Linked DNA regions of Homo sapiens: regions 2, 3, 4, 5, 6 and 7 are each linked to region 1. Evidence: promoter capture Hi-C in 16 types of primary human blood cells and fetal thymus (Javierre and others, 2016). All regions are on one chromosome and are shown on one strand. The core of a region is centred on a gene start or on the middle of the fragment in contact, and the rest is flanking DNA. Distances in the headings are between cores, read along the strand shown.

Evidence for each region. The method cuts DNA at HindIII sites, captures the fragments that hold promoters and counts their contacts. A CHiCAGO score of 5 or more calls a contact.
Region 2: a contact is called between a fragment that was not itself captured here and the fragment with the promoter of LINC01352 in region 1, in 1 of 17 cell types (neutrophils). The highest score is 5.2, in neutrophils.
Region 3: a fragment that was not itself captured here is called in contact with the fragment with the promoter of LINC01352 in region 1 in 1 of 17 cell types (neutrophils); the score reaches 6.3 in neutrophils.
Region 4: a fragment that was not itself captured here is called in contact with the fragment with the promoter of LINC01352 in region 1 in 3 of 17 cell types (neutrophils, monocytes and M0 macrophages); the score reaches 14.5 in neutrophils.
Region 5: a fragment that was not itself captured here is called in contact with the fragment with the promoter of LINC01352 in region 1 in 1 of 17 cell types (neutrophils); the score reaches 6.2 in neutrophils.
Region 6: a fragment that was not itself captured here is called in contact with the fragment with the promoter of LINC01352 in region 1 in 1 of 17 cell types (neutrophils); the score reaches 8.1 in neutrophils.
Region 7: a contact is called between a fragment that was not itself captured here and the fragment with the promoter of LINC01352 in region 1, in 1 of 17 cell types (neutrophils). The highest score is 5.3, in neutrophils.

What each region holds. Positions count from the first base shown.
Region 1 is chr1:220,827,376-220,831,152 of GRCh38, forward strand. It overlaps LINC01352 (long intergenic non-protein coding RNA 1352), which reads left to right and starts at 1,880. Exons shown (of 4, transcript NR_110797.1): 1 at 1,880-2,067; 2 at 3,318-3,532; 3 at 3,767-3,777. The HindIII fragment of the contact is 6,544 bases long and covers 1-3,488 here.
Region 2 is chr1:221,284,351-221,288,127 of GRCh38, forward strand. No RefSeq gene overlaps it. Among named protein-coding and RNA genes, the nearest start is that of LINC02817, 50 kb to the right of the region's middle. The HindIII fragment of the contact is 2,285 bases long and covers 826-3,110 here.
Region 3 is chr1:221,248,002-221,251,778 of GRCh38, forward strand. No RefSeq gene overlaps it. Among named protein-coding and RNA genes, the nearest start is that of LINC02817, 86 kb to the right of the region's middle. The HindIII fragment of the contact is 2,840 bases long and covers 415-3,254 here.
Region 4 is chr1:221,228,040-221,231,816 of GRCh38, forward strand. No RefSeq gene overlaps it. Among named protein-coding and RNA genes, the nearest start is that of LINC02817, 110 kb to the right of the region's middle. The HindIII fragment of the contact is 1,565 bases long and covers 966-2,530 here.
Region 5 is chr1:221,206,066-221,209,842 of GRCh38, forward strand. No RefSeq gene overlaps it. Among named protein-coding and RNA genes, the nearest start is that of LINC02817, 130 kb to the right of the region's middle. The HindIII fragment of the contact is 1,117 bases long and covers 1,620-2,736 here.
Region 6 is chr1:221,188,507-221,192,283 of GRCh38, forward strand. No RefSeq gene overlaps it. Among named protein-coding and RNA genes, the nearest start is that of LINC02817, 150 kb to the right of the region's middle. The HindIII fragment of the contact is 3,757 bases long and covers 231-3,777 here.
Region 7 is chr1:221,150,055-221,153,831 of GRCh38, forward strand. No RefSeq gene overlaps it. Among named protein-coding and RNA genes, the nearest start is that of LINC02817, 180 kb to the right of the region's middle. The HindIII fragment of the contact is 2,250 bases long and covers 747-2,996 here.

The DNA.
Region 1 (3,777 bases), core at 630-3,129:
AGGCATGAGCCACTGTGCCCTGCCTTTTTAAAAAAATGTAAATTCTCAGTCCACAGTGTTGAGGATGTGAGAGTGAAGGGCTGCTCATCAAGAGGCTTGCTTAGTTGTTGAGTGTAGGTAAGACACTTAAAGAGAGTCACATTCTTGGGAGAAACTAAGATTCTTCCCTTGCTGTAAGAGGACACCATAAGAAGCCAAGGGTTGGCTCTGAACAGAGGGTCAAGCCAACCAGGCCCTGCTGTTATCACCTACGGAAATCCTGTGTGGCAGTAAATACAGTCCTCAGCAAAGCCTGGAGAAGAGATTACAGGGGGCACAGAGGGGCTGGGGATGCTAATGTGGAGGTTATTGGCCAGATAGTGGCCAGGAAACCAGAGACTAGGGGGGGTTCAGTTGGAGGAGCATAGGCGGAAATGGGAGAGAAAAATAAATAAATGAGATAAGCAACTTCATTTGCTTCCTCCCTTATTACTCTTTTGTTTTGTGTTTAGGACTCTGGTCTCCCCTGAGGTTGATCTCTTCTTCTGGGGACAACAGCCTGCAGGGTGATTTTGAAAAGCAGGCTCTGACTTCTACTTCCTTGTCCTGTACTCACCCCACCTGGTGTAATTCACCGTAATGCAGTGAACTTCCACATGGCTGCTGGGCATGCTTCCCAAAGCCAGCCCCTGGGCAGGGTTTCCCTTAATTTAGACCCCTGTCCCTACCTCTCCAAGTGCAAAGTGTACAAGGCTACACGCCCAGCTGCCCCCCACCCCCATACACACACTGGAGAGACCAAATGTTTGAGATCACTGTTGGGTAGCTGGGTCAAGAGAGCTTCATAACAATGTTGTTGGCATGTGGAGAGCTTTTCTTTTTCTTGGATCCCAACTGGAAATTATCAGCTTCGCCCCATGCTGACATGCGAATGTCCAGGCCTGCCTTTCTGCTGCAGGGCAATGCTCCAGGTTACAACATCGACACCAAGCAGTTTGTTGAGAAAACTTTGGACCTCATGAGCTGGGCAAGAGCGGCCTGGCAGGTGGTAGGAGAGCAGCCTGTCCATGCCTCAGCTGTGGCTCCACTGGCTCTGTGACTGTGCAGATTTTCTAACTTTTGAAGACCTCTGTTTGGATATCCATAAAATAGGTAAGATGGTGCTAATACCTACCTGTGATGTTGTGAAGATTTAATAGCATAATACTTAAAAGCACTTTGCATACATTAGCAAAGTGCCTAAATATTAGTTATTTGGCGGAGGCTATTAACCAGTGTGCTATGAGGTGCAAAGTAAGTTGTTACCAATAACTCAAAGAACTCCAGTTTGCAAATGTTTTACTTTTACTTAAGAGAATCTTTGCGGGAGAATTAAAACCAATTAATTCCCACCACTGGCCAAGAGCTCATGCTGTAATTATCCAAGACAGAATAGCTCAACAGAAAACCAAGTCATGCAATTCTGAGCACTTGTCCTTGGGATGCCACTTTGGGGCTCCCATATCTGAAATCATTTTGTTCTCAGTCCACCTGTGTGACATTTCTGTCCTGCTCAGCCACGGGTTCACAATAATCAAGGGAATGACCCAAGGGATTCACTTCTTCCAAGCAGCCGATGCCTTTGGAAGTTATGTTGACATTGCTTGTTTAAACCTAGGGCAAGAAATCCTTTCTCTGCCAGACCTGACTCTTCAGGCACACTCCTCAGTTTGGAGACGTGACTTGCCATGTAGTACTGAGAGGGAAAACAGGCCAGAAACAGCCTTGTTGAAAACTTCTTTTCTGCTTAGCTGCCCTCTGAACAGTCACCATAAAGATTGTGAGGTGCTGGAGCCAGGGATGACCTCATAAAGCCCTTTGCTAAATACTTAGTGAGCTGGTACTGTGGGCCAGGCACTGTGCTCATCATGAACAAAACCAAGGCAGACAACACTGTCATTAATGGAGCTTATCATGTAATACGGAAGCCTGGGATAAGCAACAAATTACACAAGTGACAAATGTGATGAGTGCTGTGAAGCAGAGTGCGGGGTGCCCAGGGAATCAGCAGAGCCCTGGAGGATAACAGCCTGAGCTCCAGGAAGGAAGGTTGTGGTGGTGCTTAGGGTCAGAGTGGGGACAAGCATTCCAAGCAAAGGGAAAAGCACATACACATGCTATATTAGTCAGGTTTCTCTAGAGGGACAGAACTAACAGGATAGATGTATAAATGAGGGGGAGCTTATTAAGTAGTATTGACTTGCATGAGCACAAGGTGAAGTCCCACAATAGGCTGTCTGCAAGCCGAAGAGCAGGGAAGCCAGTCCGAGTCCCCAAACCTCAAAAGTAGGGAAGCTGACAGTGCAGCCTTCTGAAGGCCCCAGAGCCCCCGGCAAACTGCTGGTGTAAATCCAAGAGTCCAAAAGCTGAAGAACTTGGAGTCTGTTGTTCGAGGGCAGGAAGTATCCAGCACGAGAGAATGATGAAGGCTGGAAGACTCAGCAAGTCTACTCCTTCCATGTTCCTCTGTGTGCTTTTATTCTGGCTGTGCTGGCAGCTGATTAGATGGTGCCCGCCCAGATTGAGGGTGGGTCTGCCTCTCCCAGTCCACTGACTCAAAAGTTAATATCTTTGGCAACACCCTCACAGACACATCCAGGAACAATAGTTTGCATCCTTCAATCTAATCAAGTTGACACCTAATATTAACCATCATACATCCCCTCCATGGGAAGGAGCATGATGCCTTATATAGTCTACTACCCTCAAACCAATCCTACTCCCTCATCCCCAACACCTTCTTCCCCTGGAACTCTAGATAGAGTTTCTTGACTAGACACATAAGCACAATTAGGCTATGCCTAATTATGAAGCCATCCCGGTTTATACATTTTCTTGTTATACTTGCCTATTTACAAGTTTTTCTTGTGAAAACTTGCCTATTCTTTTTGCTGCCTCCTCTCCACCCTAAAAGAGAAACTCTAAGGAAACACTCCCAGAGTTTATTATAGTTATTATGACTCAGATTTGAAGACTAGAATTTAATGGAGGTTTTCCTAACATTCCTTGGGGACTTGAAGGACTTTTTTTCCCACCAGCCACAGAAGTAAGATTATAAAACATTTATTTATTAAAAGAAAAGAAATCTTCTGGGCTCAAAGTTCTAGTTATTCTAAAAGCAGAGCACTTGTTCCATGTTTTCATATCGCCTCCCCACACCTACCTCTCCTCTCCCATTCTCTATTTCTTTATTTCTGTGCTGTAGTAATAAGCAAAACAGAGAAGCAATTGGTTTTAGTCTTGGATCTTGACCTTGCTGTGTGGCCTTGGCCAAGTCACTTCCCCTTTCTCAGCCTCAGTTTCTTCAAGTGTAAAATGAGAGATTGGATGGATCAGAAGATTCAGGCCTCCTTGAAAATCCCCATGGGTGAACCCCAACACACAGGCTATTCAGCCAGCAGCCCCAAGTCCTTTATGAAAAGCCAAGGTTGATTGAAACTCTCCCTTCTCAGGAGAGAAACTAGAGGCAAAGCTTCCTCATCAGCAGAGATAAACTTGGCAGGAGCCAATTCAGGTACCAGTAAAGGATATCTTCTTCTGCAGGCCAGCCTCCCTCTCTCCAGCTTGGTTCAATCCTGCATTCATTGACACTGCACTTCTATAAGCCCTTAGAACTCTGGGAATTCTCTCCTAGTTTTCCTAGGTATGCTTGCTGTTTCTACATGGGTTTCCTGTGAATGACCAGACCAATAATCAAATGCCTCCAGGACCCATAACACAAATGAGAAGAGTTCTCTCATTATGACAGGTAGGACCATG
Region 2 (3,777 bases), core at 718-3,217, 460 kb after region 1:
AATTCTAAGACTTTAGAATCAAACAGCTAAAGACTGAATCCTGGTTCAATTAAACACAAGATGTGTCAACTTGGTCCAGTTACTTCCTCTTCCTTAATTTGATTATCTGTAAAAACTAGGATAATAATACTCATCATTTGGATCGAAAGTTCAGTTAAAATACAGAATATCTAGAACCATAAAAATCAACATCCATCAAACTCATATACCATCCCAGGCACTATGCTAAGTACTTTACATGGATTATCTGATTTAATCCTCACAAAAATTCCTTTACATGAGTACTATAATTATTCCCATTTACCAACTAGGAAACTGAGATTAGAGAGGTTAAATCGTTTGCCCAAAACCACAGAGCTAGGATGAGGGGAGCTGAGCTCATCAGCCCCGGCATACTGATTTTAGAGTTCACGTTCTTAAAGCATTCTGTTCTATAAAATGCAACTGCGTCTGGAATTGGTGGGTTCTTGGTCTCACTGACTTCAAGAATGAAGCCACGGACCCTCGCGGTGAGTGTTACAGTTCTTAAAGGCAGCGTGTCCAGAATTTGTTCCTTCTGATGTTCAGATGTGTTCACAGTTTCTTCCTTCTGATGGGTTCGTGGTCTCGCTGGCTCAGGAGTGAAGCTGCAGACCTTCGCCATGAGTGTTACAGCTCTTAAGGCGGCGCGTCTGGAGTTGTTTGGGCTTCCCGGTGGGCTCGTGGGTGTCGCTGGCTTCAGGAGTGAAGCTGCAGACCTTCGCGGTGAGTGTTACAGCTCATAAAGGCAGTGTGGACTCAAAGAGTGAACAGTGGAAAGATTTATTGCAAACATCGAAAGAACAAAGCTTCCACAATGTGGAAGGGGGACCCCAGCGGGTTGCCACTGCTGGCTCGGGCAGCCTGCTTTTATTATTATCTGGCCCACCCACGTCCTGCTGATTGGTAGAGCCCAGTGGTCTGTTTTGACAGGGCGCTGATTGGTGCGTTTACAATCTCTGAGCTAGACACAAAGGTTCTCCACTTCCCCACCAGATTAGCTAGATACAGAGGGTCCACACAAAGGTTCTCCAAGGCCCCACCAGAGTAGCTAGATACAGTGTCGATTGGTGCATTCACAAACCCTGAGCTAGACACGGGGTGCTGACTGGTGTGTTTACAAACCTTGAGCTAGATACAGAGTGCTGATTGGTGTATTTACAATCCCTGAGCTAGACATAAAGGTTCTCCTCATCCCCACCAGACTCAGGAGTCCAGCTGGCTTCACCCAGTGGATCCCGCACCAGGACTGCAGTTGGAGCTGCCTGCCAGTCACGCGCTGTGCACCCGCACTCCTCAGCCCTTGGGTGGTCGATGGGACTAGGCGCTGTGGAGCAGGGGGCGGCGCTCATCGGGGAGGCTCGGGCCGCACAGGAGCCCACGGAGAGGGTGGGAGGCTCAGGCATGGCGGGCTGCAGGTCCCGAGCCCTGCCCTGCGGGAAGGCAGCTAAGGCCCGGCGAGAAATGGAGCGCAGCGCCGGTGGGCTGGCACTGCTGGGGGACCCAGTACACCCTCCGCAGCCACTGGCCCCGGTGCTAAGCCCCTCATTGCCCCGGGCCGGCAGGGCCGGCCGGCTGCTCCGAGTGCGGGGCCCGCCAAGCCCACGCCCACCCGGAACTCCAGCTGGCCCGCAAGCGCGGCGCGCAGCCCCGGGGCTGGCCCCTCTCCCTCCACACCTCCCTGCAAGCTGAGGGAGCAGGCTCCGGCCTTGGCCAGCCCAGAAAGGGCCTCCCACAGTGCAGCGGTGGGCTGAAGGGCTCCTCAAGTGCCGCCAAAGTGGGAGCCCAGGCAGAGGAGGCGCCGAGAGCGAGCAAGGGCTATGAGGACTGCCAGCACGCTGTCACCTCTCACAACTTTGAGGCAACTCTTGATAAAAAATCATTTCCCACAACCAGGTTTTTTGATACCAGGTTTGATACTAGGTATCTTATGATGACCTATAAAACAGATACCTACCTGCCCCGTACCCCCAACCCTGCCATGGACAGTTAAGGTGAGATCCCTTTGTTTTGCCAGAGGTAGCTTGGTCAAGCTCCTGTAATAAAAAGCAAGGATTCTTACTATACAGATAGAATAAATGGCAGGTTACTCTACAGAGCTTTAAGGGCAGGAAAGTTAATCCTGTGTTCTGCTTACTGTCTGTGGCAAAAACAGCCCCTTGTTGTCCACTCCCATCTTTGATTCAGTTGACAGACAGCTGCAGCTTAATTGGCCTGCTACACGGTATGTTTGGCTGGATTTTGTGGCAAGCAGAGTCTGGTGGGGGGCCTTAAACAAAGCTCACCCAGCATGTCTTCTGCCTTGCCAAACTCTAAAAATAGAAAGCTCAACTTCTGCAGAGCTAAGGAGCTGAACTAGTCAATGGTTAGAAGATAGGTTTGTCATCTCAAGGGTGGTTTGTGTTTCCTATTAACTGGGGTTGGAATGACAAGGGGCAATCTTTTGAGCACTAAAGTCTGGACAGAATGGCATATGACCGCTATGCAAAGGACTGAATCCTGGTTATAAATCATAGCAACAACAGCCTGAAACTGAGCTATCACAGACTCTTAAATCTCCAAAGTGTGGCCTGGGTAAGCCATTATGAGAACTCTGCCTTCTCAGATAAAAAAAATTCCATGCCTCAGAGCTTAAAGCATACCTCCCTATAATCCATTTCTTTGTTCCAGCCAGACTTTCTTTCTGGAATTTTCCTCCATGCTCCGTGACCTGATCAAGGGTTAAAGAGGATTCCATATCCCACACTACATTAGAGAAGAGTGACAGCATATCAGAGAGAGGCATTGTGGACCTGTGTTTAAGTCAGCCTGTCTGAATCCACATCCTGGCTCCATCCTTCTTTACTAGGTATGTAACCTTGGACAAGGCCTTTAATCTCCATGGGTTTCATTAGACTAGGTTTTGTTATCTATAAAACATGCTTAATAAAAGTTTCAACTTCATAGAGTGGTTTTGAGAATAAAATAAAATAATTCAAGTAAAGTACATATTTTAGAGAAAATGCATCTTCATAATGATTATTAATATCATGTATCATCTGGGAAAGTCTTAGTATGCCTACTGGAGGGACTCAGGAAAGAAATGAAGATGAAGCTTGAGATAATTTTAGAAATACAAAAGGATTCAGAGAATGGCAAAGGAAACTCAATTCTATTTAGAAATAAAATATTCTAAAAAACTATACTCCCAAAGAAAAGGTTTTCTCATTTTGGTAATTGGGGCCTGCCTATTAGCATACCCACGAAGTCTTCTTTCCCTTCAGCATGTTGTTGAAACATACTTCTAGGACTACAGAGAAAATTACTATCATTATTAATCACTGTAGTCATAAATCTAAATGAACAGTGAAAACTTATTTGAGAATAATCTACTGCGTATAAGAAAGAGTGAAAAAACATTATTGAAACTGGAAGAAACAGAAATTGTGCATGCAAAAGAGGAAACTGGATAAAAATTCTACCAAGTAACATTGGAAAATTTAGAACTCTGTTTTAGCCAAATAAGAACAGGCTGCAATGATAAAGAACCAGTCAAAGAATAAGAATTAAATTTAGGAAATTCAAATATTAATCGTTTGGTCACCAGTGCCCAAAAATTAAAGAAAAGAAGCCAAGTAACAGAATGAGCATAGATGAAATACATATTAGTTATATACAGTCAGTAGAAGAAGATTTTTCAGAATATAAGACAAAATTGTTGGCCAGTAAGTTGAAAAAATATAATGCAAAATAAAATTAATAACAATATGGTAACCTGGG
Region 3 (3,777 bases), core at 585-3,084, 420 kb after region 1:
TGATGAGAACATCATAAACACACCCTTATTACAACACTGGAGTAGTCTTTGTGTTTGAATCCCCAACATCCCATCCTCTCCTCCAAGGAATTACTTTGACCCGAACCTGTTAATTTCATTCCTCTTTGTAGTGGTTGGTTTAGGGATGGGCTTGTGACCCACTGCTAGCCTTTGCTCTGTGGAGGGGAGTATGCTGGTGTCTCCTGGGAACACTACCTTCTTCTCAGGAAGAGAAGAAAGATCTCCTTTTTTGTATCTAGGTGTGGCCCATGGAAATACTGTAGACACCTCACTACATCTAAAGATGAAAGCAATACCAGGTAGGAGAGATACTGAAGACATTAGACAGAGCCTTGATCCTTTGTACCTGGAACTCGTCTTCCTCCTGATGAGTGAGAATCTGAGCTGAGGACAAGCTTGCAGAGCTATGCCATATATCGATTCCATAACTTTTGGAAAATTCTTAATTTCTCTGAATCTTGGTCACCCCGTTAGTGAATAGACCTAGCTTAGCTGGCTGTTGTGAATTAATATATGCAAAGTGCTTAGAAGAGTGGTTGGCATATAGTAGACACTCAATAAATGTTAGCTATTCTTATTATTCCTATTTTTTTTTGAGAGAGTCTCATTCTGTCACCCAGGCTGGAGTGCAGTGGCGTGATCTTGGCTCACTGCAATCTCCGCCTCCCAGGTTCAAGTGATTCTCCTGCCTCAGCCTCCCGAGTAGCTGGGACTACAAGCGCGTGCCACCACATCCAGCTAATTTTTTGTACTTTTAGTAAAGATGGGGTTTAACCATGTTAGCCAGGATGGTCTTGATCTCCTGATCTCGTGATCTGCCCGCCTTGGCCTCCCACAGTGCTGGGATTACAGGCATGAGCCACCGCACCTGGCCATTATTACTATTATGTGAAAACATAGCTTTCTTATTGCTCAAGCCATTTTGAATCCGGTTCTTCTGTTATTTTAAAATATAAATATTTACCAATATTAAATAGCATAATTGACACCTTGGCTTTGCTCAAAGGTCATATTTTTAGGAATGCCTTCACTGACCAACCTATTTAAAATTATACCCTTCCTCTAGCATTACCTATCTTTTCTCCTAATTTGTTTCTCACCAAAGGACTTACCATCATTTTATATATATTTTATTTAGTTATTTGTTGACTCATTGTCCCACCTCCTCCTTGCCTTCCCCCACCATAACCCACAGTGTATAGATGAGTACATGGTACAGAGTAGACCTTCAATAAACGTTCATTGGTTGAATAAGTGATGTATCATGCTCTACCTGGTAACACTGTGCAACAAGTAAGGTAGGCAAACCTGTACACCCTTAAGTCACAAGGGTGATAGGCAGGCAGCAAAGACAATGCTACTTCCTCCAGAGGGCAAGTGAAACAATTTAGGTTACTACAGAAATTACTAGACAAAACAGCTTATTACTTTCCAGATCGTGCCTTTACTCTGATTTTTAAAAATGTTAGCATTTTAAAAGATCAATAGATATTGTATCAGATTGTGGGAGCTGGCACGTCTGAGGGCTGGACACAGGGACAGGAATTGTTGGAGTCTTGAGGCAGAATATATTTTTCTCTAAGAAACCTCAGTAATTGTTCTTAAGACTCTAAACTGATTGGATGAGGTCCACTCACATTATTGAAGGTAGTCTTCACTTAAAGTTAACTATTATTAGGTTATCTGCCATGACTTTCAATGGCAAAAACCGCAATTACTTTCGCACCAACCTATAATTGTAGCTGTTCTATCTACAAAATACTTTCATGGCAGCACCTACATTAGCATTTGATTAGGTAACTCTAAGCTATTCTCTAGCCAAATTGATACATAAAACTAACCATCACAAATATAATAAGAGTAAAATACATTAAAGTTCTGTAGCTGATTTAACAAAGGGCTCTTCAAATACTCTTCATTGGTATTAAAGATTAAACGACACAAAACAAATTCACAAAATCTTTTGATATATAGTACACATTAAATCAGCTGATTCATGAGCCAGACTCATTCGGATTCTTATAATGCAATAATGGCTTTTCTCATGGTAGTATTCTAGCTAGGCTTTCAATCATGACATGAAATTCAGTACAAAAATACTTTTTGAACTAGGAGTCATTCATTCTCACAAGGGTTTTTGGAGCTGGCGAATGAGTAAATGCATGAGTGAGCATTCTTGTCGAGTGGTCTTATTTAAGTGTATTGTCTAGAGGTGCCTGGTTTAGAGTCTGATTGTCAATACAAACACTTGTAAAGATAAATTATTATTGGAGTTAAAATATATTGAGGTCTTACTATGTTCTTGGAAATGCTAAACACCTTATACGATAATCTCATTTAATCTCTACTGCAATCCTATGAGGTAGGAGCAATGTTTGCCTTCATTTTATTGTTTAGTCCCTTGGACTATAAAGTCCTTAACATCATGAATCATCTCTGCTACTTCCATTGTCTCACTTCTCACACTCTGGTTCAGAGCTTCATTCCAGTTGGGTCTAAAGCAGAGCTGATTATTAGACAGGCCAAGTTCATTAAAAGTCTTGCTTTTAAAAGAGGCCTGAGAGGGCTCACTTTAGCTATCCAAGGAGTAATAAACCTGTGTCTTTTCAACTGAACCTTTAATTGTGATGCTGCCAAAACCAAAGTACCTTGGGTTGGAAATCTGAATGGTGACACACTTTGATCAAAAGTGGATCTATTATTTGTGCCACACAAGTTTTGAGTTTAGGGTTCATTTCAATGTTCCCTTCAATTCAGAAAAGCATAATTTCATTTTAAGGGAAAAGAAAACAATTGCTTTAATAAAAATCTTTATGAACAAGGTTCAGAGCGTTTCTTGGACAACAAATGACTGTTACAGAGCAACATTGTGGTGAGTTAAGTGTAAATGGTTCAGAAACATGCAGATTAAATTTCCCTGAAAACACTCAAGGGCTTCCAAAATTAATGGAGGGAAAATACTTGGACAACATATATTTCAGACTTTATAGTTTTTTTTTTCTTTTTCACTCTGTTGATTTTATTTTCCCCTACAACACTTCCTAGGGTGACTTCATCTCTTGTGGTAAGGATGCTGTCAGACCAAGTTATCATTAATTCTGATGCATTCTAGGTGGCCCAAACTGGGTATCAGCTGTATTCCCTCCCTTACAGAGTTAGCTTTTTCTTTCTATTATTTGTTTTTCAATATAGGAAAGGTATAAAAATAAAAGCACAATTCAAAGTCTGTGGAAAGCTTTTAGGCCTTGTGAAAGTCCACCATCATGACACTTGAGAGATAAATGTGTGAGGTTCTTGTATGTTGAAGACTGATAAATCTTCTGTGCTTTAACTTAGAAAATATCTCAATGGATATAGATGTGGTAGGGGGATTCATAAATCAAGATTTGAAGATTCTTAGAAGGGACTTTTGAAAGGCCCTCTAGCCCATTCCCAAGCCTCAGAAATGTCTCAATAGAAAGCATGACAGAAAAATAATTATAGTCCTATTTCTTAAATGTTGCCTTAGATAAATTTTCTTCAACAGGCGTTAGAAAAATATTCCTATGTTCTCTGCCTTGTGGAGGTTCTCATAAAACTAACCAAATTCCATTTTGTAGGGATTTAAGCTTATTTTCCTTCTTTCTGTGTTTGGAGGAGGCAAATTCTGGGACACTAGTAACCGTGCCTTTTCTTATTTGGACCTTGCACTACCTTGGTCAGTGAAGTATGTCAGACATTTCTTTCTTTTCAAATATGGAAATGCTGACAATGCTC
Region 4 (3,777 bases), core at 498-2,997, 400 kb after region 1:
CTGGCGTCTCGTCGTGTAGGAGGTGCTGTCAGAGGGACTTATTTGGCAGCTGTTTCTGACTCTGGATTGGGATTGAAGAAAATAAAAATTCCTTGTGGTTGTCTGTGCGTGTGTGTGTGGCGCACCTGAAACCATGTGTGGGTGTTTCAAGAGAAACCTTGCTCTTTGGCAAAAGCAAGCACAGCTAACTTTTGCTAACTCAGTTCTGCCCTAGAGCTGACCTCCAGAATGGTCTGTCCAGAGTGAGTGAATCCTCAGAAGAGTTGGCTGGTTCATCACTGTGCTGGCCTTATAAAACTGCGGATTAAACAACGCTGTGGACGGAGGTTAATCACTGATTTACTCTGTAATCTTGGCAAGTTTTCTTTTAGGATGTATAAAAGGGCTGCACCCAGACACCTGCAGAATGGAAATGTACTTGCTCTTCCAGTTGAAAAGACAGCCTGACCCCACTGATGCCTTTCCTCTATTATTAGTTGGTCGCAGGAATATTTGTTCTATTTCCAGTTTGCAGAATGTTTCCATACCCAAGGATATAGTGAGAGCAAACAGGCTATCCCTAATAAGTGCCTGAGTGCCCCATAACCCCAAAAGGTGCTCGATAGCTGGGGGCTCAGTAAACCCAAAGCTCAGCTTTCTCAGGATGCTTTATCTGCCCAGAACTTGCTTTTGAGTTCTTACTGACATAATCAAGCAGGTAGATGATAAAACCCTGTAGTGACACCATTCATTGTGGCTTGTTTACTTTACTCCCCTTCGCAGCAGTCAGCCCGGCAGGAGGTCTCTAAAACACTCCGTTGAATGATGGGATGCAAACCTCTCTCCACAGTTGAGGCTCTCTGCTTCTCCTGCTACCTCACACAGGCGCAGGTGGTTTCACTTTGGGGGGCACTTAGGAAGGGATATTTATAGCTCACTCTTCCTCTTCCTCCTCCTCCTAGCAAGCAGTCAAAATAATAAAATTAAGCTTGTGGTAGAAAGCGTTGGAGAGGGTTGCTAGAAAGAGAGGGACAGAGACGGAGGATTCAGAGGCTCTTGATTGGAAAGGACCAGCATTTTCCAATAAGTCAAAATAACAGCAAAGTCTGAGCTCCTGGCTGCACTGGTTGGGAGACAAGAATCCCTTTGCTTAATCCGACTTATGTGGCTTACTACCTACATGACCTTGGGCATGTTATTTAACCTATCCGTGCCTCAGTTTCCCTTTCTGCAATATGAGGATAATAAGGCCTATCTCACAGAGTTGTTGCAAGGATTAAATTAGCTAACACGTGAAATGTTTAGAACTGTCTCTAGCACATAGTAAGCACTACACGACTCTTGGCAAACGTCATTAATTTTATATGGATTAATTCATTGTCCTTTTTCTACCTGCCTCATCCATCTACTGACTTCAGGTAAGCATACTCTTCTTCTTTTTTTTCTTTTTTTTTTGAGGCAGAGTCTCGCTCTGTCGACCAGGCTGGAGTGCAGGGGCGCAATCTCGGCTCCCTGCAAGCTCCGCCTCCCGGGTTGACGCCATTCTCCTGCCTCAGCCTCCAGAGTAGCTGGGACTACAGGCGCCCGCCACCACGCCCGGCTAATTTTTTGTATTTTTTAGTAGAGGCGGGGTTTCACCGTGTTAGCCAGGATGGTCTCGATATCCTGACCTTGTGATCCGCCCGCCTCGGCCTCCCGTAGTGCTGGGATTACAGGCATGAGCCACCACGCCTGGCCTCCAGGTAAGCATACTCTTAATTTGAACTCTGCAATAACCTGTATGAGGGAAGCAGGGCAAGTGTAATTACCATCCTTTTACAGATGAGAAACTATGGATAAATTCTTACACAGTCCTGATTCTTACTTATATACCTATATTTTCTCTTTATTTCTCCTATTCACTTTAGCACTTTCTACTAGGTAAAAGTAGTAGATTATAGATAGATTTATATATAAAAATTGATCTAGCCACCTGTAATCTACTACTTTTTATAGTATATACTATATATAAATAAGTATAATATATAATCTACTACTTTTACCTAGTAGAAAGTTATATATATATAAAATTTGTTGTATACCAACTATATACCAGAAACTGTTGTCAGTGCTAGATATAGAAAGGTGAATGAGAAACATAAAGTCTTTGCTGTCTTGGAGTTTATAACTTCCTCTTATCTCATCTGTTAGAATCTAAGCTCCTGGCAGGGAGGAAATATGTCTAATTTATCCTTATGTCTATCAGAGTTTTCTAGCACAAAGTTTTGCTCATAGTAAGTATTCAAACAGTTGTTGCTACAAAAGTTATAGCTCACATTTGAGTGCATACTAATGTCAGACACTGTGTTGTTTTACATTATTATCTTGCAAATCCTACAGTAACAATCCTCTGAAATTGGTATTTTTAGTAGTCTTATTTTATGATGGAGAAACCAATATTGGAGATTTGCCTAGGTTCGCTCAAATAGTAAGTTGTTACAAAACTCAGTCCAGCCTTGCTTGACTCAAAATGTCATGCCTTTTGTCCTTGGAAATAAAGTTGAGATGAATAAGCTTTACTAAGTTATCTTAATAGGTAGGCTAATGGAATCCCAAAGTAGTTAAACAAGCTACTGAAATTGGCATACCTCCTTACTCCTCTCTGACCTTTTTTGCTGAACTCTTTATACTCACCCAAAGAATAAAATTTCCTACATGGGCTAGGGCATTGACCTCAGGGTTTCCTTGTTTCCCTGGCATCTATGTTTGGTAGTAAATTTATGCTCTCTTGTGTTCTGTTGGCAAGGAAGCAGCTATCTAAATACTGGGCTGTTGCCACAGCCCTGGGAAATAGAAACATTGGTCATTCTACTTGCCACACAGCCTAAAACATGCAGCCTATTTTTGGCATATGCAGAGTAAGGTATGCAGAGTAAGGCAATAATTAAACAGTAGTTTGCTTAGTGAATACGTTACAGGCCTAGGTTCTGTGAAGGCAATATGGAGTTTAAAATATTTATTTTATTTGTTTATCAATTGATGTATATGGTCCTACCTAAGTATACAGGACTTGTTTTAGTGTCTTCAGTTCACCAGAAAGATGAGTAATCTTAATTTCTACATCTAAATTTTATGGTGTTCTTTCAAAACAAATCAACCTCCTGGATAAATGTAGGGATTATTTTTTAAATGAAAAACTGAAAAGATAATTTTCATCTCTATATCTCCTTATCACAGCAAAAGGGCATGATTCAGTGATTTGTTAGTCTATCATTTAAGGAATGGCCATTGGCAAATACTAAAGACAATTTTTTTTGCATGGTTTGTGGAATCAGCCTCAGTACTTTACTCTCACTCACTCACATATTTAAAAATTAAAAAAAAAAATTAAAAACCTTCTTGCCACAGAGAAATAAAGGGTAGCCACAACAGATCAGCAGCTTAGAAATGGAAATATTTTAATTAATTAATTCATTAAGTAAGTACTTATTAAGCCTCTGTCTAGCACAGAATTAAACTAGCAGATGAACACTGGCTCTAAATATAAGAAGGTCATTCATTAATTCACAACTGCAAGTACCTTATGTTAAAATTCACATGTCAGGCTGCTTGGGTGATATTTTTAATTGATTCTATTAAGAAAATGGTAGAGAACTTCAGCTTATGACCATATTTTGATTAGGATACACAAAAATCCTCTTTTAGAAACACCTAGAAATATAGACAATATATTTAAATATTTAATATAACAAACATTGTATCAAGTGTATATTCAATATTACAGGAAGGAAAGAAAATTTTCTAGAAAAATAAAAACAT
Region 5 (3,777 bases), core at 928-3,427, 380 kb after region 1:
TATGCTGCCATATTGTATATGGCCCTATGGGGAGATGCCCAGATGACAAAAACCAACCAACCAAACAAAACCCACAAAACCTAAAAATAAAAAATAAACCCTTATAAACCTGGTCAACAGCCAGTGAGTACCTGAAGCTTGCCAAGAGTCGCATGAGCAGTCTTGGAAGCAGATCCTCCCCTAGTCAGGCTTTGAGATGACTGCAGCCCCAGCTCATACCATCATTGCAGCTTTGCAAGAGACCTGGAACCAGAATGCACTCAGCTAAGCCATGCCCAGATTCTTGACTCATAGAAATTGTGAGATTGTAAATGTTTGTTATTCTGAACAGCTAAGTTTTGGGCATATTTGTTACATAGCAATTGATAACTTACAAACCTCTCTAAGTCTATGGATGGCTAAATATCACAGAGTAGCCATCCTTAAGAATAGTCAGAATAGTCAGTGATCAAATACTCTGATCCATATTCTTTGGCAGAAATTATAAGCCAGGTCTTCATCTAAAAGAAGAAATGTGATTCCGGGCAAGATGGCCTAATGGGAACAGCTCTGGTCTGCAGCTCCCAGCAAGACCAACGCAGAAGGCAGGTGATTTCTGCATTTCCAACTGAGGTACCCAGTTCATCTCATTGGGACTGGTTAGACAGTGGGTGCAGTGCATAGAGGGCGAGCTGAAGCAGGGTGGGGCATCACCTCACCTGGGAAGTGCAAGGGGTCAGCGAACTCCCTCCCCTAGCCAAGAGAAGCCCCAAGGGACTGTGCTGTGAGGAATGGTGCATTTGAGCCCAGATACTACACTTTTCCCACAGTCTTCGAAACCCACAGACCAGGAGATTCCCTAGGGTGCCTACACCACCAGGGCCCTGGGTTTCAAGCACAAAACTGGGTAGCCATTTGGGCAGACACTGAGCTAGCTGCAGGAGGTTTTTTTTTGTTGTTGTTGTTTTTTCATTTCAGTGGTACCCAGAACACCAGCAAGACAGATCTGTTCAATCCCCTGAAAAGGGTGCTGAAGCCAGGGAGCCAAGTGGTCTAGCTCAGCAGATCCCACACCCATGGAGCCCAACAAGCTAAGATCCATGGGCTTGAAATTCTTGCTGCCAGCACGGCAGTCTGAAGTCAACCTGGGATGCTCAAGCTTGATGGGGGGAGGGACGTCCACCATTACTGAGGCTTGAGTAGGCAGTCTTCCCCTCATAGTGTAAACAAAGCCGCCAGGAAGTTCTGACTGGGCTGAGCCCACTGCAGCACTGCAAAGCCACTGTAGCCAGACTGCCTCTCTAGATTCCTCTTTGGGCAGGGCATCTCTGAAAGAAAGGCAGCATCCCCAGTCAGGGGCTTATAGATAAAACTCCCATCTCCCTGGGTCAGAGCACCTGGGGGAAGGGGCGGCTGTGAGCGTGGCTTCTGCAGACTTAAACTTTCCTGCCTGATGGCCCTGAAAAGAGCAGTGGATCTTCCAGCACAGCGCTCAAGCTCTGCTAAGGGACAGACTGCCTCCTCAAGTGGGTCCCTGACCCCCATACCTCCTGATGGGGAGACACCTCACAGAAGAAGTAGACAGACACCTCATACAGGAGAGCTCTGGCTGGCATCCAGTGGGTGCCCCTCTGGGATGAAGCTTCCAGAGGAAGGAGCAGACAGCAATCTTTGCTGTTCTGCAGCCTCTGCTGGTGATACACAGGCAAACAGGGTCTGGAGTGTACCCCCAGCACACTCCAGCAGACCTGCAGAAGAGGGGCCTACTGTTAGAAGGAAAACTAACAAACAGAAAGCAATAGCATCAACATCAACAAAAAGGATTACCATGCAAAAATCCCATCCGAAGGTCATCAACATCAAACACCAAAGGTAGATAAATCCAAAAAGGTGAGGAAAAGCCAGTGCAAAAAGGCTGAAAATGTCAAAAACCAGATTGTTTCTTCTCCTCCAAAAGATTACAACTCCTTGCCAGCAAGGGAACAAAACTGGATGGAGAATGTGTTTCACGAATTGACAGAAGTAGGCTTCAGAAGGTAGGTAATAACAAACTCCTCCAAGCTGAAGGAGCATGTTCTAACCCAATGCAAGAAAGCTAAGAACCTTGATGAAAGGTTACAGAAATTGCTAACTAGAATAACCAGTTTAGAGAAAAACGTAAATGACCTGATGGAGCTGAAAAGCACAGCACGAAAACTCCGTGAATCATACACAAGTATTGATAGCCAAATAGATCAAGTGGAAGAAAGGATATCAGAGATTGAAGGTCAACTGAATGAAATAAAGTGTGAAGGCAAGATTAGAGAAAAAAGAATAAAAAGTAACAAGCAAAAACTTCAAGAAATATGAGACTAGCTGAAAAGACCAAATCTACATTTGATTGTTGTACCTGAAAGTGATGGGGAGAAGGGAACCAAGTTGAAAAACACTCTTCAGGATATTATCCAGGAGAACTTCCCCAACCTAGCAAGACAGGCCAACATTCAAATTCAGAAAATACAGAGAATACCACAAAGATACTACTTGAGAATAGTAACCCCAAAACACATAATAGTCAGATTCACCAAGGTTGAAATAAAGGAAAAAATGTTAAGGGCAGCCAGAGAGAAAGGTTGGGTTACCCACAAAGGGAAGCCCATCTGACTAACAGTAGATCTCTCTGCAGAGAACCTACAAGCCAGAAGAGAGTGGGGGCCAATATTCAACGTTCTTAAAGAAAATAATTTTCAACCCAGAATTTCATATCCAGTCAAACTAAGCTTCATAAGTGAAGGAGAAATAAAATCCTTTAGACAAGCAAATGCTGAGGGATTTTGTCAGCACCAGGCCTGCCGTACAAGAGCTCCTGAAGGAAGTACTGAATATGGAAAGGAAAAACCAGTACCAGTCACTGCAAAAACATACCAAAATGTAAAGACCATTGACACTATGAAGAAACTGCATCAACTAATAAGCAGAATAACCAGCTAGCATCATAATGATGGGTCAAATTCACACATAACAATATTAACCTTAAATGTAAATGGGCTAAATGCCCCAATTAAAAGACACAGACCGGGAAATTGGTTAAAGGGTCAAGACCCATCAGTGTGCTGTATTCAGGAGACCCATCTCACGTCCAAAGTCTCACATAGGCTCAAAATAAAGGGATGGAGGAAGATTTGTGAAGCAAATGGAAAGCAAAAAAAAAGCAGGGGTTGCAATCCTAGTCTCTGATAAAACAGACTTTAAACCAACAAAGATCAAAAGAAAGAAAGAAGGGCATTACATAATGGTAAAGGGATCAATGCAACAAGAAGAGGTGAGTATCCTAAATATATATATGCACCCAATACAGGAGCACCCAGATTCATAAAGCAAGTTCTTAGAGACCTGCAAAGAGACTTAGACTCCCACACAATGAGTGGGAGACTTTAACACCCCACTGTCAATATTAGACAGATCACTGAGACAGAAAATTAACGAGGATATCCAGGACTTGAACTCAGCTCTGGACCAAGCAGACCTAATAGACATCTGCAGAACTCTCCACCCCAAATCAACAGAATATGCATTCTTCTCAGCACCACATATCACTTATTCTAAAATTGACTACCTAATTGGAAGTAAAACACTCCTCAGCAAATGTAAAGGAATGGAAATCATAACAAATGGTCTCTCAGACCACAGTGCAATCAAATTAGAACTCAGAATTAAGAAAGCCACTCAAGCGTGGCCAACGTGGTGAAAACGTGTCTCTATTAAAAATACAAAAATTAGCCAGGTGTGGTGGTGGGTGCCTGTGATCCCAGCTGCTTG
Region 6 (3,777 bases), core at 859-3,358, 360 kb after region 1:
GAAGCAATCTGAGAGAAGACTCTAGAATTTCACAATTTGCTTGCTTTAATGTTTGACCAATCTCTCACTTACATCTTATTTTAGCAACTTCCCTTCATTGAGCTTTTCCAAAGCATTTAATTTTGCTTTGGTATGAACAACTCTCTTTTTCGCTTGCTATGGGTTTGCATCATATTCACTTAAATTGCATAATAATATTAATGAGTGCAGTTGTCATGAAAGGGTGTGTAAGCTTTCAACTCAATTGGTGAGAACTGAAATATGTGGTTGCTCTGAGAATGCCCTTCTAGCTGGGTGCTTTAGAAGGAAATGGGTGTCACTATGTTTCAAGAAATTTGGTTACGGGAGTTTGACTCAATATGGCAAGGATATCAGTTCTTCTAAAACTAGCTTATAAATCTAATGTGATTGCCAGAACTTCATAAACTGGTTCTGAAATTCATATACAAGAATTCTAAAAAGATAAAATTGGTAGAAAGCAAAGAAAGATAACTAGTCCTACTGTATGTCAAAACATGAGTTTATAGTATCTGTAAGAGTCAGGATAAGAGCACCACATCAAGAAAATACAATAAAGAAAACAAATCATGTGTATTTAGAAATTTGGAATTAAAAATGACATTTGAAAATTGGGAGAGATTGATATTAGGACAATTGGCTCCTCATATGGAAAAAGAAATCCAATGTCTTCATATTTTATGCAAAAAACCTACCCCCAGACAACAACAAATAGCTTAAAGATCTAAATGTTTACATATATGTTATAAAACTCCAAAAAATAAAAATACAAAAATCAAAAATACAAGGAAATATTCACAGTTGACCATATCATAAAAGAGAAAGAAAACTTCTATATAACAAAAAGACATCATAAGTAAAGATAAAATACAAGCGGCCGGGCGCGGTGGCTCACGCCTGTAATCCCAGCACTTTGGGAGGCCGAGGCGGGCGGATCATGAGGTCAGGAGATCGAGACCATCCTGGCTAACAAGGTGAAACCCCGTCTCTACTAAAAGTACAAAAAATTAGCCGGGCGCGGTGGCGGGCGCCTGTAGTCCCAGCTACTCGGGAGGCTGAGGCAGGAGAATGGCGTGAACCCCGGGAGGCGGAGCTTGCAGTGAGCCGAGATTGCGCCACTGCAGTCCGCAGTCCGGCCTGGGCGACAGAGCGAGACTCCGTCTCAAAAAAAAAAAAAAAAAAAAAAAAAAAGATAAAATACAAGCAACAGACTGGGAGAAGACTTTTTTTTTCACATACAAAAATATTTGTACCTTAAAAATATAAAGAATATCTACAAACCAGTACAAAATTGCGATGACAGACATCCAAATAGAAAGAAATAGGCAAAGTCTACAATAGGCAAGACACAGAAGAGGAAATACAGCCGGCCAACAAAACATGAAAAGATGCTCAATTTAAGTACTAACTAGAAAACCGTAAAATAAAACAATGAATAAGACATAATTTTTACCCATTAAATAGGCAACAAACAAATATATAAATAAAATACAAAGTACAATAAGAACTGGGAAGAGGCTGAGTGTGATGGCTCACAACTGTAATCCCAGCACTTTGGGAGGTCAAGACCGGTGGATCACTTGAGGTCAGGAGTTTGAGACCAGCCTGGGCAACATGGTGAAACCGTGTCTCTACTAAAAATACAAAAATTAGCCAGGCATGGTGGTGCATGCTTGTGATCCCAGCTATTTGGGAGGCTAAGGAGGGAGGATCACTTGAACCCTGGAGGCGAAGGCTGCAGTGAGCCACTGCACTTCAGCTGGGGCAACAGAGTGAGACCCTGTCTCAAAAAAAAAGAAAAAAAAAAAAGAACTGGGAAGTTTGTGGAGAACTAGATACTCCAATACATTGCTGATGAGACTATAATGTAGAGTATATCATAATATGCCACTTCAGAGGGCTACATAGCAGTAGTCATTAAAATGAGAAATGCATCTACCTAAGACTTCCCCTTTTTTAATATCCAGCCTACACTTGCACATGTGGGCAATAATATAGGTAAAAGGACGTTCTCTGGAATAATGGTGAAGTAAACAATCCACAAATAGTAGGATAGCCAATAATTGGATTCACAAGACATAGTATTCCACAAAAGTTAAAAATAATATACTGGTTATTTATATAATGACAATAGATAGAGCTAAAAATACATATTGTTGCATGAAAAATGTAAGTATTGATTGACACTTATAGTAGCAGTTTCTATGGGTACATATACATAAGTTTGAAAATATTAAATAACATAGATTTAAAAGTCCTAACAGAGCTAACTCTAGTGATTGAGTTGATGTTAAAGAGGAGTTTAAATTTATTGGTTATGACTTTTTAAAGAAGACCATATTTGTGTGTTCCTTGTGTAATTAAAAATTAATTACATATGTATCAGTGAACATATCTAATTTCTAATTCATTGAGGACAGGACAGATAACTGTATTTCCAACACAAGCACAGTGCCTGGCACAAACTCAATAAAGTTTGGTTAAATGTATAAAGAAATGAATGGATTAATAGATGAATGGTAAGATAAACGAGTAGGTGGGTGAGTAGATACAGATTTGGGGATCTGATTTGGGTGGGGCTGGAGGAAACACGTATGTTTTTTAAAGCCTCATAACCTTTTCATTGATGGTCCCTTGAGAATGGTGACGGGTGGTGTATTAGTCTGCTAGGGCGGCCCTAATCCAGTAATACCGAGGACCTTATAAGAGACATCAGATTCTCTCTCTCTCTCTCTCTCTCACCCCCTGACCCCCCCACCCCCCACCCCCCACCCCCATACATGCATGGAGGAAAGCCCATGTGAGGACAGAGAGAAGGCAGCTGTCTGCAGGACAGAAAGAGAGTCCTCACCAGAATCCAACTCTGTTGGTGCCTTGATCTTGGACTTCCGGCCTCCAGAACTGTAAGAAATAAAACTCTGTTGTTTAAGCCACCCAGCCTGTGACATTCTGTTATGGCAGCCCTGACTAACACAGGTAGCATAAGGAAATATTTAGGAATGGGCTTAGCAAGCCCATTCATTTTTTCACTACTTAAAAATTAATGTAACTGGGCCCAATGCTCTGGTGTGTGTGGTAGGGAAGCCCTCCCCTGCCCTGCTCATGCCTGACTAGGTACCCACTGTAACATTTTCCCCCTCAGGAGTCCAAGACTCCAAACTTCTGGGAGAAAATGAACGAAGGAGACAGGTTTTCTTTATGGCTCCAAATTTCATGAAATGAAATGTTGCAGGATATATCTATCTGCAATAGAACATGTTAAGTATTGCTTTCCATTGAGTGCTCATGAAAACAAAGGAAGGAGAGTAAAGAGTCAAGGCAAAAATCCTCCTGTATGGGGGTTAGGAGGATCCACTCTTTTAGCAGTTCATCTTTGTATTCTTAATGTGGCCTTGTATTGGCCATGTTGGTGATTTGTTTGGGGACTAATGTGCCTAGCTTTGTTCATAGGAAGGATCTAAGGCAATACGAAGGAGTAAATATATGTGTAGGATTATCTTTATTTTTATTTATCTTAATTGACAAATAAAAACTGTATATATTTATTGTGTATGTAAAACTTAATGTAATTGTTTCCTTTCATTTCCAAGGCACATTTGTGAGGAAACTTCACCTTGACCAATTTGAGGACCACTGACTTGGAAAGTATATTCTCTTTCAGAGCAGGAGGGATGAACAAGATTTGACTCCTGCAGCCTCTAGATGGCTGCCTTAGGATCTGGGCAAGTGCAGCCTGCCTCAGCTCCCATCTGTGTCTAC
Region 7 (3,777 bases), core at 622-3,121, 320 kb after region 1:
ACTTTGTACCAGGAACTGTGTTAGGTAGTGGGGAGACAAAGGTAGCTTAGACACTGTAATATCTTTAAGTCACAAAACTGAAGTATAGATAGAGGGCTATGGGAAAATAGGAGAGAGAGAGAGATTGTGCTTTAGAGTTTTTGGGAGTTTTGAACATAGGAGTGAAATGGTAAGATCTGTGTTTTCACTCTGGTTATCATATGAAGAGTGGATTGGAATAGATGACCAGGTGTGGATGGCGAATTTAGGATGATAAAAGGGTTTTAAGGCTTTTGGACCAAAATGAGATTCTAGTCATTGATAGATGGATCTATACAATATGGAGGGATCCCTCTGGTTTTAGTATCACTGGGATTATTAGAAAGTAATGTCATTTGGCTGGTGACAGAGTCTCACTGTGTCTCCTAGGTTGGAGTGCAATGGCACCATCTCTGCTCACTGCAACCTTGACCTCCCGGGTTAAAGCTATTCTCCTGCCTCAGCCTCCTGAATAGCTGGAATTACAGGGGCATGCCCCCACCCACACCTGGCTAATTTTTATAATTTTAGTAGAGACAGGGTTTCACCATGTTGGCCAGGCTGGTCTTAAACTCCTGACCTCAAGCAATCTACCCGCCTCGGCCTCCTAAAGTGCTGGGATTATAGGCATGAGCCACTATGCCCAGCCATGGCTAGTTGTTTTAAATTTATGTTTCATTCCTGTTCTTTAACATGGCAGTTATACAATTTGATAATAATCCTTTTTAAGCTTTCATCTATATAGATTTGTATGTAAGAATTTAAATTCTACTATCAAGTCAAAACTGCTCTTCTCCCTGGGCATTTTCCTTGTTTTCCTCTATTGATTTCAGGCCATATGATATATATTTCTTGAGGTTTGATGATTGACACATACTAATCATCAAATGAAAATAACAAAAACATTGATAGCACAGGCTACATTTTACTTATTTTAGTGTCCCCAGTGCTAAGCATGTTGTCTAATTTGCAACAATTTTGAAATTAATATATTAATTTTCTGTTACTGCTGTAATAAGTTACCACAAATTTAGTGGCTCAAGACAACAAATAATTTGTTACTTTGTGGTTTTGATGGTCAAGAGTTCAACATCAGTCACAGAAGGCTAAAGTCAAGGTGTCAGCAGGGATGACTCATTCTGGAGCTGCATGGGAGAAGAAACTTCCTTGCCTTTTTCAGCTTCTAAAGGCTGCCTATGTTCCTTGGCTCTTGGCCCCTTCCTCCATTCTCAAAGCCAGCAGTATAGCATCTTCAACCTCTCTCTCTGACTTCTGCTGTCATTGCCACATGCCCTTCTCTGACCCTGATCCTCCTGCCTCCCTCCTGTTAGGACACTTGTGATTACATTGGGCCCACCTTGATAAAGCAGGATGATCTCCTCATCTCAACGTCCTTAACTTAATCACATTTGCAATGTTCCTTTTGCCATATAAGATCATATATTCACAAGATTTAGGGGTTAAGATGTCAATGTCTTTGGGGGGAACATTATTCCATCTACCATAAAAAAATTTGTTTTGTTGATACGATATTTTAATGTGAGTTGATAGGTAATTGATGGGTTATTAACTAGGAGTCACCACGATGAGACTTCCTGATCTTAATGATCATTAAGATGTTTACAGAAGTATTTTACTCTTTACTATAGTAATGGAGGTTGTTTGGATGAGTGAAAATCCCAACTTTGAGAAGAAGATATAATGGTACAATTGCTTTTAGCAAGTAATCATATTAAAAATCATAACCTCTGGTTTAAACAATTGTTTAATCTTCCTGATTTTGATGAGATATTATTTGGTCACCCTATTCATATCCTCATAGGTCAAATATTATAATGTAGTTTTAAAAATAGTGTCCAATAATCATGGATCTGTGAAATTTAGTCATGGTAGGACCAAGAAAATGGTATTACCATTTTCTTCTATTCTTCCATTGCTTCTTTCAAATCCTGGAGAATCTTTATAAGTTTCACACAGTTGCTATATCTCATTAAAAAATATGTGGAAATATATTGGAAGGAGAGTTTGAATCCTGGTTACTTTCCTAAATTAGCATCAACAATTACCAAGGAGTCACTCATATTGTTAGAGGGCAGAGCAGGTAATTGTGCATCATGCACTAGGTGAACAATTAACATGTAATTTGCATAGCTTAAAATCAGATATTTTAAAAACACAAGATTTTCATTGTAAAGGGGGTAGTAAACATTATCTTTTAAATATACTGGAATTTTTATAACTAAGTACTTTGATGCATCTTCCATTCATTCAAATACTTATGAGTGTCTACTCATGTAACATCCTGCTGGGCACTGAGACAGAGCTGTGGGGCAGAAAGTTTTGCATGATGTAATATGTTACCTTCTTTTGGGATACTATCAGTATAACTGATAAAAATACTTCAGGCTGGGTGTGGTGGTCCACGCCTGTAATCCCAGCACTTTGGGAGGCTGAAGGGGGTGGATCAACTGAAGTCAGGAGTTCGAGACCAGCCTGGCCAACATGGTGAAACCTTGTCTCTTCTAAAAATACAAAAATTAGCTTGGCATGGTGGCAGGCATCTGTAATTCCAGCTACTTGGGAGGCTGAGGCAGGAGAATTGCTTGAACCTGGGAGGCGGAGGTTGTGGTGAGCTGAGATCGTACCACTGCACTCCAGCCTGGGCGACAGAGTGAGACTCTGATTCAACAACAACAACAACAAGATTGCTTTTTCTCCTAGTTGACCATTAGTTGGGAGCTAACTAGATATTATTTTAATTAAATAATCAGATATTTATAGTTCTTTTTTCCCCCTCTCTATAAGAGAGACATACTTGAATCGGAGTTTTGGAAAAATTTCCTCCCTGGTGAAAAATTTGGGAAAATCTCTGTTATATGCTTGTAGTCAACTTGTTGGAGAAGTTGCTTTAACAACAGAAAGAGAACAATTTCAGTCCTTAAGGAGCTCATGATCTAGTTTTAAGGGACAGCCTGGTAAGCTTATAATGGAAGATCAGAGAAATATAAGAACTATGATAAAATAGATATCTGTCCAGGGTGCCGAGGAGCACAGAGGCTCAGACTGAAATATGAGTTCCTCCAAGATTTTCTTTTCTTTTCTTTTCTTTTTTTTTTGAAACGGAGTCTCGCTTTGTCGCCCAGGCTGGAGTGCAGTGGCGCAATCTCGGCTCACTGCAAGCTCCACCTCCTGGGTTCACGCCATTCTCCTGCTTCAGCCTCCCGAGTAGCTGGGACTACAGGCGCCTGCCACCACGCCCGTATAATTTTTTGTGTTTTTTTTTTTTTTTAGTAGAGACGGGGTTTCATCGTGTTAGCCAGGATGATCTCGGTCTCCAGACCTCGTGATTTGCCCGCTTCAGCCTCCCAAAGTGCTGGGATTACAAGCATGAGCCACCACGCCCGGCCTTTTTTTTTTTTTTTTTTTTTTTTTGAGATAGGATCTTGCTCTGTTGCCCAGGCTGTGGTGCAGAAGCATGATCATAGCTCACTGTAACCTTGAACTCTTGGGCTCAAAAGATCCTCCTGCCTCAGCCTCTGAGTAGCTGGGACCACAGGAACTCACCATCACGCCTAGTTTTTTCTCATAGATAGTTTTTTCTCTTGTTATGTTGCCCAAGCTGATCTTGAACTCCCGGGCTCAGGCAATCCTCTCACCTCAGCCTCCCAAAGTGCCTCCAAGTTTTTCTCTAGGAAACAGTGCCCTCCCTAAGTCTCAAAGATCAGTGGGAGCTGGCCAGGTGAAGAAGATGGGAGGGGC